Linked DNA regions of Homo sapiens: regions 1, 2 and 4 are each linked to region 3. The links are contacts of gene promoters, found by promoter capture Hi-C in blood cells and fetal thymus (Javierre and others, 2016). All regions are on one chromosome and are shown on one strand. The core of a region is centred on a gene start or on the middle of the fragment in contact, and the rest is flanking DNA. Distances in the headings are between cores, read along the strand shown.

Region 1 (3,521 bases), core at 865-3,364, 600 kb before region 3:
ATTGTTGGCCTGGCTCAGACCCTGACCTGGAGCCTCTGCTGAATATTGAGGCCGGATATTGACCGTTAGCCTCAACTAGGATACAGCGGGTCCTCCCTGGGCGAGTCTGCCGGTTGGTCAATTCCGGGAAGTGACTTTGGTTCCTAGAAGAAGCCCAGATGGCCCTGGCCCAGCCCAAGCCCAGTCCAATTGTGCAGCCCAGACAGGGAGCCCTCCCTCCCGCCTCAGGGCTCTGAGCCAAGCTCACCAGATGCAGAGGACAGAGACTCTCAGCAAAGCAGCTCCCTCCATGTCGCTGCAGGGCCTCCTCCTTGAGCAGGAAAAGAGGGGTTGAGACAGTGTGCTCCTCCTGAGAAATCACCATTTTCATTTCATTTTTTTTTTGAAATGGAGTCTCGCTCTATCACCCAGGCTGGAGTGCAGTGGGGCGATCTAGGCTCGCTACAAGCTCTGCCTCCCGGGTTCACGCCATTCTCCTGCCTCAGCCTCCCGAGTAGCTGGGACTACAGGTGCCCGCCACGACACCCGGCTAATTTTTTTGTATTTTTAGTAGAGACAGGGTTTCACCATGTTAGCCAGGATGGTCTCGATATCCTGACCTCGTGACCACCTGTCTTGGCCTCCCAAAGTGCTGGGATTACAGGCGTGAGCCACCGCGCCCGGCCTTTCGTTTAGTTTTTAATAAACAGTTTTGCTCTGTCACCCAGGCTGCAGGGCTTTGACACCATCCTAGCTCATTGCAGCCTAGATCTGTTGGGCTCAAGTGATCCGCCTCCTTCAACCTTCTGAGTAGCTGGGACTACAGGTACACACTACCATGCTGGGCTAATTTGTTAATTTTTGATTTCATAGAGACAGCATCTCCTGTGTTTCCCAGGCTGTCTTGAACTCCTGGCCTCAAGTCATCCTCCCGCCTCTGCCTCCCACAGCACTGGGGTTACAGGCTTCATCATCTCTTTTTGGTGAAGAACAAATAAGACCATGACTCAGATTTCACAGAAATTACCCCCCTGATTTCATGGACTTTTGGCAGCTCTATCAGGTTTTTTACAGGGGAAAATACTCAGGCTGGGAGGGGAGGTGAATTTCCCAGAGTCACACAGCTCTTGGAGGGCAGAGGGGAGGCCAACATCTGCCCTTGTGACTCTAATATTGAAGCAAAAATGTTTGATTTTAATAATCCAAAAGTTTCCAGGTTTGATTCTCCTTCTATGAACACAGAGATCTAAGCTCTCACTCCTGTAGTTATACTCACAATTCCACAGTGTGGCTTTTGAATCTCATGATTGCAAAGCTGGCATCATGCCACAGGCACCATTCTGCAACGCACCCTTCTCACTCCCCTGTCTCAGCCACGTTTCCCATTAGGGACACAGCACAGCCTGTTTCTTCTCCATCACCCCAGAAGTCTGAACAGAGGGACAGAGGTGAGGGCCAGAGACGTGGAGTCCTATGATCTACCTGCTCAGCCTCCTGACACGGGACCCTGGGCAAGTCATTCCGCTCCCAGGGCCTCAGTTTCCCCACAGGGCCTGGCACAAGTTGGTGCTCAGACTCAGGGTGGGTGAGATGACCTCTGAACTCCTTGTACCTGAAAAAAAATTCTGTTGCCCCCATTGGGCCTCAGCAGCAGCACCCTGGGGCCAGCCTTGGTGTGGCCTGGCCATAAGAACAGGCTGGGATCTGGGTCACCTCCTCTCCTCCACCTTCTTTGGTTCCTTCAAATTTCCCAAAGAGATGGGCACCCCCAACACAAACCTTCCTTCTGGGTTCACTCAGTCGTGTCTCAGCAGTCAAAACCAGGGCTGAGCCCAGGGAGCTTTGTGAACCCATCTGAGCTGTTTCCCCAACCCTCTATAGTTTAAGAGCCCAGCAGGAGAGGGGAAGCAATCAGACTCAAGCCTGGGTGCAAATCCAGGCTTTGCCGCTACTTTCCTGTCTATCTGAACCAGTCACCTAACCTCTCCCAGCTTATCTACAAAAGCTGTGAGAATAAGATGGAGGCAGGTCAACTGTCCCCAACTTACCAAGGAATCTTCCCCTGGCAGAGACTGAGCAAGATCCAGCTGTTCTGAGCTGTGTGGATCCCACCTCCAGTTATGCGTCTGTATAATAACCAGACAGGTCCTCCAGTCCCCAAGATATACCGAGGAATTCGAAAGGGAAAGTGAAAGTCACAACTTCCCAGCAGCTCATGACCAAGCACAGCAAACACGCTCCCCTCCACCTTCAGTCCAGCCCCACCCTCCTTGCTGCTGCCCTTAGAGGAGCAGCCTGAGACCAGACATCCAGATCCCTCTCATCCAACCCACCTGCCTCGCATCCTCAGGGCTGGGGGTCTGCTGTGGTCTCAAGGAGAAAGACCTGCCACTGACATACTATGGGACCCTGCAGATTACTCCCCATCCTCCCGTGCATCCACATTCCCCTGATGCCTGCCTTACTCCTGCCCGTGCCATCGGCATAAGCACAGTCTCCCACACATGCCTTGTGGATGCTTATTGTATATTTATTGTAATGCCGTTGGGGTTATTTTGGTTATGTTTTTGAGACAGGGTCTCAGTCTGTCACCAAGACTGAATTGCAGTGCCACAGTCATCGCGCACAGCAGCTTCAAACCCCTGGGCTTAAGCCATCCCCCCACCTCAGCCTCCTGAGTAGCTGGTTCTACAGGTATCAGCCAACCACCCAGCTAATTTTTAAAAAAATTATATTAGAGATGGTGCCTCACTATATTGACTGGGCTACTCTTGAACTCCAGGCCTCAAGTGATCCTCCCACCTTGGCATGAGCCACCGCACCAGGCCTGCTCTTGTTGAAGGCCATGCCTTGTGGCTTCTAGATATTTGCTTATATGGGGTCTTCTGCCGGGAGCACCTGCTTCCACCGCCTGGAAAAATCATGCTCATCGTTCAGTGACAAAATCAGGCATTGCCTCCTTTCAGAGATCCCCCAGCATCCTCCCCAGCAGAGGCCACTGCCCCGTGTTCCACTCCCGAGGCACACAGGGTGGAGGGACTAGAGACCACTGCTCAGCCACACTTCCATGACTAGGAAGTCATGCAACCAGATTGCTATTGGACTTTTGTGCTTTGCCCCAGGCAGAAGGGCCTCAAAGGCAGCTAAACCACAGAAGCCAACCTGACCCTTCCATGGGGGCCTATTTCATCCTGAGCAAACATCTCTGGGGGCATCGTGTCCACCTCACCCCACCCATACACACACACACACCAGCTTATGAGGCAGGAAGAGAATGGTGATTACACAGGGACTGCACAATACACTTTGCAATACATTCCATTTGCAAATGCTTCTCCATTTGATTGAGTTTTATAATCATCCCCTCAATGGGCCAGGATTATGATCTGATTTTGCAGATGAGGAAACTGAGGCAAGAAGAGAGGACGTTGCTTTCATCCAGCAACTCAGGGAGGAGGCAAGACTTGTAAACCAAAGAGGGTCTGGGACACGTCTCAGTCAGTTTAGATGTTTACTCTGCCAAGGTTGAGGATGCACCCAGG
Region 2 (3,390 bases), core at 411-2,910, 510 kb before region 3:
GGCCAGGAGCTGTTGCAGTGACAGGCTTTCTGCTCTCTTTTCTCCTCCCAGCTGCTAATGTCTACTTAACTGCCTGTTGGGAGCTGAAAAGGCCAAAGGGATTGTGACCAACTCAGCATTTCACTGGAGGCTATATGATCAAACAGCAAACTGTTTATCATGAATGCGGGATGTGGGTAAACTCACACTGCACCCGCCGCCAGAAGGTTTCCTGAGGGCCATCACTCCCTGGTGCTGGGCTCCTTGAAGTTATCTGTTGGGATATCTAGCACCTATTATTTGAAGGATGCAGTCTTGCAAGCCTGCTGTGAACCAAACGGCTGACTGACAATTACCTGACAATCACCCCCCCACCTTTTTCTCGTCATCTCTTTTACCTAATAAACTCAGAGAGCTTGAAAAGCTCAGAGCCCTTGTTCACTAGAAGCAAGGAACCCCCTGACCCCTTCTTCCTAATATACTCTTTTGTCTTTGTCTTTTACTCCCACATCCGCCCCCCACTTTGTTCAGTCAACCTGGGACTGTGGCCAATTACAACAGCCTAACAAAAGTGCCACAGGAGTGGAACATGGGGCAGTGGGCTCTGCTGAAGAGGATGCTAGGGGGCTTCTCAGGGGAGGAAATGCTAGATTTGCATTCTGATAGAGGAGCGTGACTTTTCCAGGTGAAGGTAGCAGGTGCTCCTGGCAGAAGAACCCACATAAGGAAGTGTCCAGAAGCCACACAGGTATGGCGTTCGACAAGAGCAGGTCTGGAACGGTGGCTCATGCTGAGGCAGGAGGATCATTTGAGGCCAGAGTTTGAAACCAACCTGGTAAAAATAGTAAGATTTCACCCCTTCAAAATCATTTTTTAAAAGTAGCCAGGCCGAGTGGCTCATGCTTGTAGTCCCAGCTACTCAGGAGGTTCATTTGAACCCTGGAATTTGAGGCTACAGTGAGCTATTATTGTGCCACCGCACTCCAGCCTGGGTGACAGAGCCAGACCCCATCTCAAAAACAAAACAAAACAAAACAACAAAATAACCCCAACAGCAATACAATCAATATGCAATAAGCGTCCACCCGGCATGTGTGATGGACTGTGGTAATGCTGATGGCATGGAGGGAGTGAGGTGGGCATCTGGGGAGTGTGGTGTTATTGGGGGTGGGGAGTAATCTGGAGGGTCTCATAGTCTTTCAGTGGTAGGTCTTTCTTCCTGAAGACACAGCAAACCCCCAACCCTAAGTATGGGAGGCAGGTGGGTTGGCCAAGAAGGACGTCTGGGGCTGCTCTTGGATCAGCAGGAGGGTGGGACCAAGGGTGCTGCTGGACCAAGGATGGGACTGGGCCAAGGGTGGGGCTGGGAAGCATCCTGTTTTGCATGTTTGATCAGGAGCTGCTGCCAAGTTGTGACTTTCACTTTCCCTTTTGGGTTCCAGGGTATATCTCAGAGCCTGGAGAACGTGTCTGGTTATTATGCAGATGCACGGCTGGAGGTGGGATCCACACAGCTCAGAACAGCTGGATCTTGCTCACACTCTTTCAAGAGAAGCTTCCTTGGTAAGTTAGGGGTGGTCTGACCTTCCCCATCTCCCCATCCTCACAGCAGCTCTATAAGAGAAGGGTCATTCACCTTTTGTAGATGAGCTCAGAGAGGTTAGGTAACTGACTGAGGTCACATCTCGGTCCATGGCAGAGCCTGAATTTGCACCCAGGTTTTAGCTGGACTTCTCCCTCCCTCTCTCTGGGCCCCCAAACAGTAGAGACAGAGGCAGAATCAGCTCAGCTGGGTTCACAAAGCTTCCTAGGGCTCAGCTCTAGTTCCAGCCTGCGTGAGACATGGCCCGGTGACCCCAGAAGGAAGGCAGATGTTGGGACTGTCCATTCCTTTAGAATATTTGGAGGAACCAGAGAAGGTGGAGGACAGGAGGTGATCCAGAGCCTGGCCTGTCCTTCTTGTGGCCTGGCCACCCTGAGGCTGGCCCCAGGGTGCTGCTGCTGAGGCCCGATGGGGACAGAGGATTTCCTTTGAGATACAAGGAACCTGGCTGGGCGCGGTGGCTCATGCCTGTAATCCCAGCACTTTGAGAGGCCGAGACGGGTAGATCACTTGAGGTTAGGAGTTCGAGACCTGCCTGGCCAATATGGAGAAACCCTGCCTCTACTAAAAATACAAAAAATTAGCTGGGCGTGGTGGCACAAGCCAGTAATCCCAGCTACTTGGGAGGCTGAGGCATGAGAATCACTTGAACCCAGGTGATGAAGGTTGCAGTGAGTCGAGATCGCACCAGTCACTCCAGCCTGAGTGCACTCCTGACAGAGTGAGACTCTGTCTCAAAAAAAAAAAAGAGAGAGAGAGCGAAAAGAGATAACAAGGAACCCAGAGGTTGTTTCACCCACCCTGACTCTGAGCACCTACTTGAGCCAGGCCCTGTGGGTAAACTGAGGCCATGGGAGATGAGTGACTCGCTGAGGGTCCCATGTCAGGAAGTTGAGCAGGTAGATCACAGGACTCCATGTCCCTGACACTCACCTGGTTCCTTTTCAGGCCTCTGGGTGATAGAGAAGAAAGAAGCTGTGCTGTTCCCTAGTGGGAAAGATGGCCCAGACAGGGGCAGTGAGAACGGCATGTTGCAGAATGGTGTCTGCCACATGATCCCAGCTTGACAATCATGAGATTAAAAGTCAAACTGTGGAAGCGTGAGCATAACTGTGGGAGCGTGAGCTTAGCCCTCTGTGTTTGTAGAAGCAGAAACAAACCTGGAAGATTTTGGATTATTAACATTATACTTTCTTGCTTCAATGTCAGAGTCAGGAGGTCAGGTGTTGACCTTCCCCCTGCCCTCCAAGAGGTGTGTGACACTGGGGAAGTCACTTCCCCTCTCTGAGCCTCAGGGTTTTTCACCTGCCTTAGGGGGTTAGGATGCCCTACCCTGCTGACCCCCAGCAGGCTGCTGACCCCATCTGGGGTGAGGTGGGAGGCGGGGCAGTGCGAGTCAGGGGAAAGTTGACATTGCAGCCCAGATGCCTGCAGGGGCTGCAGGAAAGTGGGGAGAGCTGGAGGCCTGCATGGGCTTCTCAGATCCAGGTGATGCCCAGCAGGTGAGAGGGTGGGCCTGGCTCCTCAGAGCTCAGATGACGGAACATTTGCTATAAACTCAGGTGCAATTACATTTGACATGCTGGCAACCAAATAAAAGGCAAACCTTGCATATGCCACACACACACTCACAAATTCACACACACACACACACACACACACGCACACTCACACCTGCTATTCAGATTTCACTTCATGGAGCCCTGTGTTTCTCACCTCTGTGTCGTGGCCTCGAAGGGTCTTTGATTCTGTGCAGCTTCTTTTCCTCCTCATTTCTTTAAGGGAGGCATCGCATTCATTAGTCTTTT
Region 3 (3,282 bases), core at 298-2,797:
AGGGCGTGTTTGCTCCTCAGGGACACTGCTAATATCTGGAAACATTTTTGATGGTCTCAGCTGGAGAGGGTACTGCTGTTGGTATGTAGAGGGCAGAGGCCAGGGATGCTGCCAAGCACCCTACGATGCAGAGGACAGCCCCCACAACCAGGGATCACCTGGTTGAACATGACAAGGTTGCTGGGGGTAAGAGACTCTGGTCTGGAACCCCATTTTTTACCAGCGTCCGCCAATACCTCTCTCATTTTTTTACATTAGTCCTATGGGATGCAGGGCAAAGGTAACAGCAGGAAACTCATCTAAGCAGGTCCCATTCCATCCCCTCTGACCTGCTCTTGGTGGTTGCGAGAGGATTTGCTTGTGAGAGGTTTATTGGAAGAGGATTTGAGAACTTACTTTCATTTGAAAGCTTACAGGATATTTATGACAGTCTTTCCTTACCTGCCTTCCCCCACAAAACCAACTTCTGCAGATACACAATCTAAGTAAGAAAAATCTGCTTACTTTGAAAACACAGCTTCAAGATAACCTCCCTAGATTTTTTTTTTTTTTTTTGAGACCGGGTCTCACTCTGTTGCCCAGGCTGGAGTGCAGTGGTGCGATCACTGCTCACTGCATTCTTGACTTCCTGGGTTCAAGTGATCCTTCCACCTCAGCACCCTCCCAAGTAGCTGGGACTACAGGTGTGCACCATCACGCCCAGCTATTTTTTGATTTTTTGTAGAGACGGGGTCTCACTATGTTGCCCATGCTGGTCTCAAACTCTTGGGCTCAAGCAATCCGCTTGCCTTAGCCTCCCAAAATGCTGGGATTACAGGCATGAGCCACTGCGCCTGGCCTAGTCGCCCTAATATTTATCACAAACTCCCTCACCCTCTTCCCCAAACAACTTCACATAAATCTACAATCTAGAAAACTCTGTAGGTTGGCTTTGCAGTTTCTAGACAACTCACCCAGCACCTTTTTTCTTGTGAGATGACACCCCTAAACCACTCCTCTACTGAATTTCTAGGGAAACGCCTGTGGCTGATGTAATCATCTGCTTTCTAAGGGCCAGGTCCCCTCTGCCTAAGCCCTCGGATCCCCAGCAGTGGAGGGACAAATGCAACTTGGCTAGTCACATCGCATGCTTTAGCATGTTTCAATTTAACCCTGAAATGGCTGTAAGGGAGGGAAACCTACCAGGATTAACACAGGAGAAGTTAATCCTCAGACTCTCCTCAAGCTCTGGCTGGCATTTGAACCCCGCTGCTTTCACAGCAGCTCTTTTCCCTGAGTCAGGTGCCTAAAGCCAACCCCTTGGGGGCTCTGTCCTTCAGGGACCAGAGCGGCAGCCCCCTCCTCCCCCGACTTCTGCCCGCCGTCTCACCTTCTCTCCACGGAGCTCTCCTTTGTGGCCTTGGGTCCCGAGGGAGAGGAAGATCCTGAACCTCTGTCCTTGCCTCTCCGAGGTCCCCTGGTCTGGCAGGGGGCTGTGAGTGTCTGGGCTGGAGAAAGACGGATAGGAAGAGTAGGGTGGCCTTTGAACAGGAATTGATTGCAAAACTGGTTTCGGTTAAGTGCTGCAGGAGAGAAAAAGCAAAGCTCTAGGGCTCTTCCAGGAAATCATGGGCTCCAGCTGTCACTTTCAGTTTCCTTTTTGCCAGTTTCTCTAATTGGATGAACAAGGAGGTGAAAGAGCAGAATCCAAGTCAGGAGGCCTGAGTCTCTCGTCTCTGTCCTGGCTGTGTTATAGGATGGACCTATATGGGGTATGAAAATAGCTCCTGTGGCTTAGAGCTATGGTGAGGAGCCCATGAGCAAGCGATGGGGCGCCTGTTGAATAGTGGATTCACAGTAGCTGTCATCACTGATTGTTCTGAAACTGCTTTCCTCCACAGCATCTTACGTGACGCTGATGTGGGTAACAACCCTATGAGGTGCACAGCATTAAAGGGCTAATAACTCTGAATGCAGAATCCTCTGAAAATGGAAACTTTATTTTATTATTATTATTATTATTGTTTTTTGAGATGAAGTCTCGCTCTGTTGCCCAGGCTGGAGTGCAATGGCACGATCTCGGCTCACTGCAACCTCCGCCTCCTACGTTCAAGCTATTCCCCTGTCTCAGCCTCCCTAGTAGCTGAGATTACAGGCACCTGCCACCACGCCCGGCTGATTTTTGTATTTTTAGTAGAGATGGGGTTTTGCCATGTTGGCCAGGCTGGTCTCAAACTGCTGACCTCAAATGATCCATCCATCTAGGCCTCCCAAAGTGCTGGGATTACAGGCGTGAGCCACCGCACCTGGCCTCAGAATGAAAACTTAAAAAAAAATGATAATTTATTCATTTAGTGGCAAAACCTGACCTGATCTGGCATGAATTCACCTGTGGTTTTTATGTCTCCTGCTTAATTTGAATATTTACAGTCACTGCAGAAATATTAATATGTTTGACTGAGGAGGGCTGCTGCGGGTGCGTGGGTTACATAGTACACGATACCTGCACCCCATTACCTTTCTAAAAATCCCCCAAATCAGGAACTCTGACATGCATCTGGCCTCAAGGATTGGAGATATAGGATTGTGATACTCTGTCTCCCACTTTAAGGAAGAGGAAACCCAGGCTTCTAGAAGTTGTGGGTTGTTTGTGATTACACAGCTAAGAACCAGTCCTAGGCTCTGTGTCTACAAGAATGAGCCCACAGTGAGGTTACGGGCTGAGATCTGTGTCTCTCTAGCATTTGTGTCAAATTGTGATCAGAAGCCATGTGGTTTGTTTGTATTTATATGCCCAGAAGTCCCCAGTCACCACCCCTAGCTGAGACCACATTGGAGGCTGTTGCTTTGCAGAAGGTGCGGCCCACCTAGCCAGTCCTGGCTTTGCTGTGATAGAGGCCACCTCCTGTCCCTGGGCCCTACGAGCAGGAATGAGGGGTTAAGGGCTGCTGAGTTGGGTCTTGTAGGGGCCTTTCCAACCGTGGCATCCCGGATTCCACAACCCACCCCTGCTCCTGGCCTCCCACACTTGGGGAACACGCTAAACACAGCCTGACCTTGAGGAGGACTTGGCTGCCTGGCTGGGGCCGCTGAGCCATCCCAGGCCTGCCTGTTGTTTTCCCTGGCAACGGACCCAGATGTTGTGGTCACTGCTCGGTCCTGGGAGTCTCAGGGGCCAGACCGGCCATTGGATGGGGGCAGTGTTTACCACCAGGGCTCTTGTGAAACAATCGCCCCAAGAGATGCCATGTGAGAAAAATGTTCTGTAGCCAAATGCAGGAAGTGCTGCTTATGTAAGGGGAC
Region 4 (3,355 bases), core at 535-3,034, 530 kb before region 3:
GGGTGCTTAGAACCCATTCTCAGTGAGAGCAGCAGGACTGCCCAGGAGGAGAATAGAGAAGAGGGCGACCGAGTCCTGCACCTGCAGAGATGATGTCCGCAGGTGGCGGGGCAGCGCTGTGGCCGTGTCACTCCTCACAAAGCAGGGCTCTTGTGCTCGCAGCCTTGATACCGTGTCACTGTCTTGGCTTCTTTTTATCTTCCAAGCCAAACTCCAGCCTCCTCTGCAGGTGGGGCTCTTCTGATATGATTCCAGTGAATTTCATGTTGTTTTCTGCCCTTAAAAACCAGAGATGGTACCTCTGCTTGACCAAGAAGCCTGATTGATAGAGACTGAGAGCTGCAGGCTGTGTTTATTTGCTTCATTAACAAGAACACCTTAGGAATGGCAGCTTCTACTGATGAGCTTCCTGCTTTGTTCTGCTGTTGGAAGACAAACAGTTGTTTCCCTGCTGACGACTGGCTGCATTGAAGAGGTGAACAGGTGAGTCACAGGAATCACTGCTTCTGCTCCCTTTAAACCTTGATGATGGCAGCAATCTCTCTAACTCCTCCATGAATTTGCTGTTGACTCTGATTAAAATATTTAGGCAGGTATGTAAAACCAACGGCTTCCACCGGCGTCTGTCACTGAAATAGTCATCATCCGTGGGTCTACGTGAACAATCTGAAGCTTCCAAGAATATGCATTCCAGTTATCCACCCAGGAATTTAAAAAATAATAACCAGGTGATAGACTTATTGAAAAGTAAACTGAAATCAGATATTCATTCATTACTTGTTCCCTGTAACCCCCCCTCTGACTGGAACACCACAGTGGCACTCTGGGTCATTATGGGTCCCAGGAATTGGTGTCAGTCTGGATGGGATCCAACAGTCCTGGGGATGGGTTTCCTTTAAGCCGTCCCCTGTGATCTGAGGGGACGCTCCAGGTCCAGGGAGAACAGGTAGGAGGAACGCTCACAGGCTGCACTTATGGGAAATGACGGGGCCTTTTGCAGACTCCTGGCCTCCCTTTCCTTCAAGGGCTCTGGGTCTGTGCTATGAGTCAGGCCTGAGAATTGAGTGACAAGCAGGGGCCATCCAGCATGATGACCTGTGACAGGTGCCTGCTCACCAGACTGGGGGTTTTGCGAAGTCAGTAGACTGTCCACCAGCTCTGTTGCTGGATTCTGCATGTGGAACGTCCCTGAGCCCAGATCATGCGCCCTCCCTGCTTCTTGACCTGGTGTCCACACTCTTTTCTTCTGGCCACCACCTGCCTCACCCTAGGGTTTGCCTCTTGGAATTTCTCCCACCCTAAAGAGACCAGGGTCCTAGCCCCTCCCCCATTCTAGAGAGCTCTAGAGAATATCCACTGATTCTTCTCATCAAAGGAAAGGGGAATCTCCTGGGCCCTGGCAGCACACAGTCAGGGCAGAAAGCGCCTGAGAAATCCAGTCTAACCCTCCGGTCTCCTATACACTTGACTCCTTCTTCTTTATCATGCCAGGTAATTTCTGGCCTTTTGGTGTCATAGAGAGGTGGCCAGCATTTACTCAAGGGTTGCATGGCCAGTCCTGGGCACAATTAGAATCTAAGCCAGCTGTTGGGGCGAAGTGTGTTAGCTCATGACAACTATGGAAAGGAATCCACATGATGCTCCCCTTTCCTTGCCAACCTCCCTCAGACCCCACCCTGCAAATGGTCTCCGGCTCTTTGGAGCTTTGACAGCGAGCTCCTTCTGCTGCAGCGCCTCACTCCTTTCCATTCTGCAGTTCAGTCTTGGGCCACAATGACTTGAACGCAGGCTGTCTAGAAACAGAGAGTGGGGCAGGAGCAGACAGGAACAGAGTTGGAGCAGCTTCCTCTAGCGGGGCCTGTACCTCAGAAAAGCCCTTAGACATGGCTACGAGTTGGGATTCTTCAAACTCCTTGATATCCCCATCGTAATTTTCTTGATGCAACTTGTTTTAGGCTGAATAACAGCCCCCTACAGATGTGCATGTCCTAACCCTGGGACTTGCGATTATATCACCTTCCATCATAAAAGGGACCTTGCAGTTATCGTCCAGATAAGGATCTGGAGATGGGAGATTATTTGGGATTCTTTAAGTGGGTCCAATGTAACCACAAGGGTCCTTCTAAGGCAGAGACAGTAGGGTGAGAGGGAGAAAAGGAGATGAGATGATAGAAGGGGAGAGAGACTGGGAGAGATCGGAGGATGCTACAAGGCTGACTTTGAAGAGGAAGGAAGGAGACAGGAGCCAAGGCCAGCAGTTTCCTCCAAGAGCTGGAAGAGGCAATGGAATGGCTTCTTCTTCCAGAGCCTCCAGAAGGAACGCAGCTCTGCCCACACCTTGATTTTAGGACTTCTGAGCTCCAGAAGAACTTCGTGTTGGTTTGAGCCACTGTGTCTGTGGTGCTTTGTTACAGCAGGGGAGGAGCTAACACACCACTCTCTCCCTATCAGGGCCCTCATGTGCGCTTAGAAGATCTGGCGAGGACGAAATTTATCATGTAACCAGAAACCTACAGAATTTGCTTTTCATAGGAAAGTCAGCCAAAAATATCAACAGCCACAATTTATCAGACGCCTTCAGGAAAAATGTCAAAGCCAGGCATTTGTCTGAAGTGACCTATCCTGCTTCAGGTCCCAGCGTTCCTTGCCCCTTTCCACAAGATGACAGCAGGTGCTCCCCGGAATGCTGGGGTTGGGGGTGGCTCACTGTTGCTCTGCCCTCCTCTCAGCCTGAAAACTTATTCCAAATATGCCAATCATCTGAGGGCCTGTGATCTGCAACCAACTCTTTGGGACAATGTTTGTATCAGTTAACATTTTTTTTTTGAAGCAAGGAGAGCGCAAAGCAAAACAAAGTCAAAAGCAAATGCAAGAACAAAAGTGAAGCGAAAGCTTTTTAAAATCCTCTGGCTAACTCTGCAGTAGAGACATGTATTGGAAGAATCCAGAGAGAAAGCTCACAGAATTAAATAAATAAAGAAATCTATGGGTGTGCACACACACATGTATGGACAGACACACACACACACACACACACACACACACACACACAGGCAATTTTAAAGCCAGGTTTAGGGAAGACCAGGGATCCGGAAAGCCTCAGGGGTGTCAGCAGTGGGAAACCAGCTCCTCTTCAGGCCTCAGCTCCACTGCCTGCTGCCTCTAAGGGTTTTCCTTCAGGTCCTCCAATTTCCTGGGAAGAGACTCCGATGGGCCCCAGGGGACCATCAAGCCCGCATCCATGCTGTTCCTCAGACAGTAAAGCAACTGCAGGTTTTCCTAGGTTTACTGGGCTACTGGAGGATATTCATTCCTCATTTGGCACAATCCCTTTGCCCATTATACACTCTAATAA

What was found. The method cuts DNA at HindIII sites, captures the fragments that hold promoters and counts their contacts. A CHiCAGO score of 5 or more calls a contact.
Region 1: a contact is called between the fragment with the promoter of APOL1 here and the fragment with the promoter of APOL6 in region 3, in 8 of 17 cell types (M0 macrophages, non-activated CD4 T cells, monocytes and 5 more). The highest score is 9.0, in M0 macrophages.
Region 2: a fragment that was not itself captured here is called in contact with the fragment with the promoter of APOL6 in region 3 in 12 of 17 cell types (activated CD4 T cells, naive CD4 T cells, non-activated CD4 T cells and 9 more); the score reaches 11.7 in activated CD4 T cells.
Region 4: a contact is called between a fragment that was not itself captured here and the fragment with the promoter of APOL6 in region 3, in 3 of 17 cell types (naive CD4 T cells, erythroblasts and M1 macrophages). The highest score is 6.3, in naive CD4 T cells.

Annotation. Positions count from the first base shown.
Region 1 is chr22:36,251,726-36,255,246 of GRCh38, reverse strand. It overlaps APOL1 (apolipoprotein L1), which reads right to left and starts at 2,114. Exons shown (of 6, transcript NM_003661.4): 1 at 2,028-2,114; 2 at 248-310. The coding sequence starts at 291. RefSeq lists enhancers at 1-252, 2,002-2,061. The HindIII fragment of the contact is 9,856 bases long and covers 1-3,521 here.
Region 2 is chr22:36,158,821-36,162,210 of GRCh38, reverse strand. APOL3 (apolipoprotein L3) reads left to right here and starts at 1,456. Exons shown (of 4, transcript NM_145639.2): 1 at 1,456-1,542. RefSeq lists enhancers at 1-12, 1-537. The HindIII fragment of the contact is 248 bases long and covers 1,537-1,784 here.
Region 3 is chr22:35,646,711-35,649,992 of GRCh38, reverse strand. APOL6 (apolipoprotein L6) reads right to left here and starts at 1,547. Exons shown (of 3, transcript NM_030641.4): 1 at 1,370-1,547. RefSeq lists an enhancer at 1,543-1,842. The HindIII fragment of the contact is 8,876 bases long and covers 412-3,282 here.
Region 4 is chr22:36,181,378-36,184,732 of GRCh38, reverse strand. No RefSeq gene overlaps it. Among named protein-coding and RNA genes, the nearest start is that of APOL4, 19 kb to the left of the region's middle. The HindIII fragment of the contact is 2,220 bases long and covers 675-2,894 here.